2 separate regions of the Homo sapiens genome follow, and region 1 is linked to region 2. Evidence: promoter capture Hi-C in human tissues and cell types (Jung and others, 2019). All regions are on one chromosome and are shown on one strand. The core of a region is centred on a gene start or on the middle of the fragment in contact, and the rest is flanking DNA. Distances in the headings are between cores, read along the strand shown.

Region 1 (3,877 bases), core at 545-3,044, 660 kb after region 2:
GGATCAGTCTATTAGAAGGCTGCCATAACAAAATACCATAGACTGGTGGCTTAAACAACTGAAATTTATTGTCTCATAGTTCTAGCAGCTGAAAGTCTGAGATCAGGCTGGGCACAGTGGCTCACACCTGTAATCACAGCACTTTGGGAGGCTGAGGCAGCTGGATCACCTGAGGTCAGGAGTTCCAAGACCAGCCTGGCCAACATCGTGAAACCCTGTCTCTATTAAAAATACAAAAATTAGCCGGGTGTGGTGGCACGCACCTGTAGTCCCAGCTACTCGGGATGCTGAGGCAGAAGAATTGCTAGAACCCAGGAGGCGGAGGGTGCAGTGAGCCAAAATTATGCCACTGCACTCTAGCCTGGGCAACAGAGCAAGAATCTGTCTCACAAAAAAAAAAAAAAAAGCTGAGATCAGGGTGCCAGCATGGTATGGTATAGTTCTTGTAAAGTCTCTCTTCCTGGCTTGTAGATGGCCAGCTTCTCACTATGTCCTCACATGGCAGAGAGCGAATGAGGGAGCACAAGCTCTTTGGTGTCTCTTCTTAGAAGAATACTAACCTCATGAGGGCCATGTCCTCATCTAAACCTAATTATCTTTCAAAGGTCCCATCTCCAAATACCATGACATGAGGGGGTAGGGTTTCAAAGCATGAAATTTTGGGGAGGACACAATTCAGTCCATAGCAGTCAGCCTGCCAATTTCTAAAAAAAGTGCTGCTGGGATTTTGTTGGAATTACTCTGAATCTATAGATCAGTTTGGGGAGAATGAACAACTTAACAATACTGAATCATTGATACACCAATCAATGAACATGGTTTATCTCTGCATTTTATTTCATTAGAAATCAGTTTTGTAGTTTTTAGTTATAGATCATGCATATATTTTTAAAGATTTATACCCAAATTTTCACATTTCGGTGCTGTTATAAATGGCAGTTTAAAAAAATTTCAGCTAGGTGCAGTGGCTCACATCTGTAATCCCAGCACTTTGGGAGGCCAAGGTGGGAGAACCACTTGAGCCCAGAAGTTTGAGACAAGCCTGGGCAACAAAAAGTGAGACCTTGTGTCTACAAAAAAATAAAAAAATGTAGCCAGGTGTGGTGGCATGTGCCTATGGTTCCAGCTTCTCAAGGCTGAGGTGGGTGGATTTGTGTGATCCCAGGAGTTTGAGGGTGCAGTGAGCCATGATCATGCCACTGCACTCAAGAGTGGGCAACAGAGCAAGACCTTGTCTCAAAAAAAAAAAAAAAAAATAAAATAAAAAATAAATTTCCTATTGTTCATTGCTAGTACATGGAAATTTAATTTTTTTTTTTTGAGTCTCCCTCTGCCGCCCAGGCTGGAGTGCAGTGGCGTGATCTTGGCTCACTGCAATCACTGCATCTCCACCTCCCAGGTTCAAGCGATTCTCCTGCCTCAGCCTCCCCAGCAGCTGGGACTACAGGCACATGCCACCACGCCCGGCTGATTTTTGCATTATTTTTTTAGTAGAGACTAAAAAAAAAGTAGATGAAAAAATTTAACTGGGTGAACTGACAGATTCATATTCCTGGAGTTATGGGAGAATTACAGGTTTTCAGAATGCTTAGTGTATTTGACATGCATATTCTTAGGGCATTTCAGATATACGAAGCATTCCGGTATTAGAAGTAAGACAAACAAACAAAAAAAGACAGTGGTGTGTGCCTGTGCCCATGGTCCCTATTACTTGGGAGGCTGAGGCAGGAGGATCACTTGAGCCTAGGAGTTCAATTCCAGCCTGGGTAACACAGCAAGACCCTATCAGAAAGAAAAGAAAAGAAAAGAAGAGAAGAGAAGAGAGAAGGGAAGAGGAGAAGTCCCAAATTTAAACTCTTATTCCTTTAATAATACTCTTTATATATTGAATCAAGTTCTTATGCTTTACTCTCCCTACAATTCCAGCAAATGTTTCCACATATATGCTGAATTTAATCCCAAATGTTGGATCTCAAAGTCTTATTAACAACACTTAGAAGAGTGCTTGATAGGAGTCATCATGTTCCTGATACTTATTGATTAGTGAATGAGACAACCTCAAAGACAAAAATGAATGACTGGTGTACAAAAATCATAACCGGCAAGACAAAACACCCAACTTAGACTACTACTGTGAGTATTTCAGGCTTGCAAAACAATTCTAATAACTTACCAATAACTCCAAGGCTGGTGAGCCGGAGATACTCAAAGGGACGTGTTTTGCTGACAGTGTGCAAAAAGGGGTACAAAAAAAGTGGGATGTGTGCTGCGAGAAACGCTGACCTGGAAGAAAACAATAATTACATTCACAGCCCAGGGTTGATTTCTAAGGATCCTGAACTTTCAAATTTCTAGGTGGTTAATTCTGTAAGGCCTTAACATTGTCAGAGCAAGGAATCCTTAGGAAAACAATGTTACTGGTCATTAGTCTCAACCAATGGTTCTCAAATGGGGTAAATTTTGCCCCCTGGAGGACATGTGGCAATGTCTGGAGACATCTTTGATTGTCACAACTCAGGATTATGAAGCACTATTGGCATCCAGTGGGAAGAGGCCAGAGATGCCATTAAACATCCTACAATGCACAGGACAGTCCTCTCCTGCCCTCTCCTTTCCATCACAAAGATTCATCCAGCCCCAAATGGTAATGGTGCCAAAGCTGAAAACCCTAGTCCAGATCACAGTGGTTAAGAAAACACATGATTTTCCCTGTAATCAGCAAAAAGTACCTTACAAACTGATTAACTTAAAATATCCAATTGTGGATTTTAAAAAATAGACCACAAAATGCTATTAAGTGTCCAAGAGATTGTCCTAGATTATCTCCCTCACCTATGACTGAATAATAGTATTCACAGGTGCAGTCGAATAAACCTTACAAACCAATACAACAAAACAAAGCAGCCATTATCAGGCTTACCTGCTATACTTTAATAAGCACATTCTTCTTTTTTTGTTAGGGCATTTCAGATACACAAACCATTCTGAAAACAGTTTAGTCAGGCAACTAATAAGGAAATCAGTCTATTATTTTATATTATTTATAGTTACACCTTGTAGAAGAGCCAACGCCCAAGATTTTTAACACTCAAAGTACTCTTGTGTTTTTGTTAAGTGCTTAAAAGTAATTTTCTTAGTAATTTCTCTAAAGCTGTGTAAGGTCAGTGCCAACCTAGCATACATATTTCATAAGGAAACTTGACAAAGAGGAAAGGCTTTAATAAGATGACTATTAAGTGCCTTTGGGGCCATAAAAGCCCACAAAGTAGATTCCTGAACAGGATTTCCCTTTTCTTAATTTTTTAGATATGACAGGTGGCAAAAATATTTTAACTTACATGCCAATTCTCGTCTATTATAGAGGCCGCCCAGAATGCTATGTTAAGAAGGATTCTGAAGTCAAATCTGGGTTCAGTGTGGGAAAAGTGCTGGAAAAATAATTACTAAACTCCTCTTATATGCCATGCACTATGCCTCACAGATGACATAGTGTCAATAACAGGTCAGGGAGTGAGAAGTAGCTGTATGCCTGATACCTTTCCTGTAATGTGAACACTGTTTCTTTAAAGTTCATTGGGTAAAAGTAAATAAGAATCCGGAAGACCAGGAGAGAGAGAGAGAGAGAGAGAGAGAGAGAGAGAGAGAGAGAGAGAGAGAGAGACACACACACACACACACACACACACACACACACACACACAAACGTTCTCTCTCTCTCTCCTCCATGCCCTTCCTTTTATTATTCAGAGAACGTTTAGGACCATATTCAATGTATATCTCCCCCAAGTGACTCACCCAAAGCATTTACCTGGTTTCTGGATGTGATGCTACACATTGCAGTAATGCCAGAGCATTGCAAACTCTGTTAGACTGGTGT
Region 2 (3,654 bases), core at 189-2,688:
CTGACCTTGAAGAATGGTAGCAGCAGCCAGGCCTCATGCTTAGCACCCCGTTCCCTCAGACAGTAAGCCACGAGGCGAAGGATGTTGGGGTGATTGAAGAGGCGATGCATGTCGGCTTCTCGCTGGGCCTCCTCCCGGTCCTGCTGCTCGTGACACAGGATTCGCTTCAGGGCGTAGAAGTGTCCATCATGTAACCCTTCCACTAGGTCCACATAGCTGAACCCACTGTGGGCCAAAGGGGTCAATAAAGGGCCATGGTCATCTCCCACATGGCTTGGACCTAGAGAAATTTCCTGGTGGGGAGTGGGGTGTCCTTCCCATTTAGCAGAAACCTTCCCAAGATGTGGCTCTAAGAGAAATCTGAAGAATATTACACCGTGAGCTCCTCAGGAGCAGAGATATAGAAATCTTTGAGGTCCTATGGTCGTAATAGAGACCTCTGCACTTGACAGATGCTAAATAAATAATAGCCAACACTTATCAAGTACTTGTCAACCCCGCATTGGGTGAGACATTTTATACACATTATCTCATTTAATCCTCACAACTCCATCAGTGAGGGATAATAATCATCTCCATTAAGCTGATGAAAAAAACATGGTTTATCAAGGTCACACGAGGTGGATTTAGCAGGCCTGGCTCCAGAATCCACCTTCTTGATACTGTGTAGCTAGGTTCTGTCAGGTGAGAGAGGACAGGGATAGGGATAAAACCCTTGTGCCCCAAGCATATGCACACCGCTGTCCTTCAATGATCATAAACTTGAGGACTAGTTAACTGACTTCCAAACACTCACCCCTCCCCCAGTTTCTGGATGAAGAGGTAGCGCTTATTGTCAATGATGACAGTTCCCCGAGAGCAGACACACAGCGCGTGGCCCATAATGTCTCAGTCATCCTCTTCAAGGACGGTCTGAGGCTACCGAAGAGCTCGTCCAGGGTGAGTGGGCTCTTCCAGGAGATGCGCTGGGGGCCCAGCGGATCATGCTGGAAAGAAAACAACGGCAGGGTCACAGGTCCGGCACAATCCAGACGACCCATGAAGTACCAATGCGGAGAGCTCAGGCCCAGGTCTCTGGAACCTACACTATAGTGTAGAGAAAACAGGCCCTGCTCCGTCGCCAGCTTCAGGGGTGGGGTCAGGCGCCTTACGGCCTCAGGACACACAGCGGCTACCGGGCCACTTCCTCCAACCCCAGCCCATCTTTGGGCAGCCCCCGCTCCCACGCCCATCGCGCCGCAAAAGCAGAGCATAGCGTAGTTTCAGAGGACGTGCGAGGCTCAGGCCCACTCCTGGCAGGGCCCACCCCGGTCTAGGAGCCCAGAGCCCGGGATGGGCCATCTGCACTGCCGGACTGACCTGGCTCGGGCCAGAGAGAAGCGCCACCGACCGGAAGCAGTGCTGACATCATCAGTCCGCGCCGGCGTAACGGCCCGCGGTATCTCAGCAACCGCTGGGCATCCGGAGGATGTGGGGACGCGGAGCTGAGAGGCTCCGGGCTAGCTAGGTGTAGGGGTGGACGGGTCCCAGGACCCTGGTGAGGGTTCTCTACTTGGCCTTCGGTGGGGGTCAAGACGCAGGCACCTACGCCAAAGGGGAGCAAAGCCGGGCTCGGCCCGAGGCCCCCAGGACCTCCATCTCCCAATGTTGGAGGTAGGAGGCTTCATACCTCTGGCGCTCTGGGGCAGAAAGCGGCCAACTACACTGCAGCCTGGAGGGGGATCCAGTGAGGGGCGGGTCTGGTGGCCTGGTCTCCTGATCCCGTACAACCTTCTGGGCTCTGGCCTGTATCCCACTACCCCTAGTCTCAGTGGTTAAGAGCTCAGGCTTGTGAACCAGACTTCCAGTTTCTAAATTGAGTGTTAATAGCATGCTAGCTGTGTAACCTCGGGCAAGTTACTTAACCTCTCGGATCCTTACTTTTGGTAGCTGTAAAATAGGTATAATAGTACATAAGGTTAAGTAGCTTAACTGTGAGGCCAGACTGACTAGTTCAAATGACAGCTCCGTTAACGTAGTTGTGTGACCTTGGACAGGCTACTTAATGTTTCTGTCCTTTCCTCTCCTCCTCTGTAAAATGGAAATAATTATCTACCTCATGGAGTTGAAGATTAAATGAGATGTACAGTGTTTAATACAATATCTGACACATAGCCTTCAGTACGTGTCAATAAACCGTAATTATTATTACCCTGATCTTCACATCCCATTCTTGAGACTGTAAAGGCAAAAGGAACGGAAATTCACAGATTTTCGAGCTTTGGCACAAAGCAGTTGTCCTTAATATCTGTTGCGGAGGCAGGCAGGGGTAAGCTGGAGAGGGGTGCACTTCCAAAGAAGGTGGAATGGCCAGGAGGGAATGGCTGTTTTGCTGAAACAGGACTCTCCAGGAAAGAGGTCCTTCTTGTGACCTGGTTCCTCCCTTCCACACCCCGGATCACCCTGAAGATTTTCCAATGGTTTCCCCTGGTTCTGAACCTGTTTTAGCCTTTTGGTTATGACATTGATTCATCCAGATTTAACCTACTATATACCCGGCCCTGTGCTAGAGGCTGAGGATTTGAGATGAACAGGGCACTCCCTGTCCTCAGGGAGCCCAGTCAAGTAAAGCCATGCTTCTCAATTTTGAAGGTGCCTAGGATCACCTGGGAATCTTGTTAAAATACAAATTCTGATTCTATAGGTCTGAGGTAGGATCTGAGATTTTACATTTCTTTTGTTTGTTTGTTTGTGTTTTTTGAGACAGAGTCTCGCTCTGTTGCCCAGGCTGGAGTGCAGTGGCAGGATCTCGGTTCACTGCAACCTCCGCCTTCCGGGTTCAAGCAATTCTCCTGCCTCAGCCCCTACCCCCACCCCCACCCCCACCCCCACCCCCACCCTCGGAGTAGCTTGGAATACAGGCGCGTGCCACCAGGCCCGGCTAATTTTTGTATTTTTAGTAGAGACAGGGTTTTGCCCTGTTGGCCAAGCTGGTCTTGAACTCCTGACCTCAAGTGATCCACCCGCCTCGGCCTCCCAAAGTGTTGGGATTACAGGCGTGAGCCATCGTGCCCAGCCAGATTCTCCATTTCTAACAAGTTCCCAGGTGATGTCGATGAAGCTGGTTCGTGAACTGCACTTTAACATGATGTAGAAATTTTACAAACTAGTAGAGTAAGGGGGTGGCTGCAGGCTGGAGAGGAAGTCCAGGCTAAACGCCTGGCAACTTGAGGTGGTTTCCGCCCCCTTGCTCGCTGAGGTTCCCTCCCAGGAATCCGACACGTGACGGTCTGTCCGCCGTCTCAGACTAGAGGAGCGCTGTAAACGCCATGGCTCCCAAGAAGCTGTCCTGCCTTCGTTCCCTGCTGCTGCCGCTCAGCCTGACGCTACTGCTGCCCCAGGTAAGATGAGACGGTGAACCAGCCTGCCGGGTGCGGTGAGCGGGATCAGATCCAGCGGATGAGAGAAAGTCCAAAGTAACAACCAAACAACCCGCAGGGCTAGTTCCATCTCTTCCGCTCTTGGCAGGCGCTGACCCTCGACGCTCCCTCCAGGCGTCTGCTGAGCAGCGTCTCTTTCTCTTTATAGGCAGACACTCGGTCGTTCGTAGTGGATAGGGGTCATGACCGGTTTCTCCTAGACGGGGCCCCGTTCCGCTATGTGTCTGGCAGCCTG

The links. Contacts are between HindIII fragments. The study calls those that stand out against the background at their distance.
Region 1: a contact is called between a fragment that was not itself captured here and the fragment with the promoter of GLB1L in region 2, in 1 of the 25 tissues and cell types used here (spleen).

What each region holds. Positions count from the first base shown.
Region 1 is chr2:218,583,018-218,586,894 of GRCh38, reverse strand. It overlaps CNOT9 (CCR4-NOT transcription complex subunit 9), which reads right to left. Exons shown (of 8, transcript NM_005444.3): 3 at 3,809-3,877; 4 at 2,174-2,283. Among named protein-coding and RNA genes, the nearest start is that of CNOT9, 16 kb to the right of the region's middle. The HindIII fragment of the contact is 4,719 bases long and covers 1-3,877 here.
Region 2 is chr2:219,243,228-219,246,881 of GRCh38, reverse strand. It overlaps GLB1L (galactosidase beta 1 like), which reads left to right and starts at 1,438. Exons shown (of 17, transcript NM_001286423.2): 1 at 1,438-1,653; 2 at 3,239-3,380; 3 at 3,568-3,654. The coding sequence starts at 3,309. It overlaps STK16 (serine/threonine kinase 16), which reads right to left and starts at 1,403. Exons shown (of 8, transcript NM_001330213.2): 1 at 1,086-1,403; 2 at 797-986; 3 at 6-225. The coding sequence starts at 882. RefSeq lists enhancers at 1,262-1,691, 1,140-1,722. The HindIII fragment of the contact is 8,716 bases long and covers 1-3,654 here.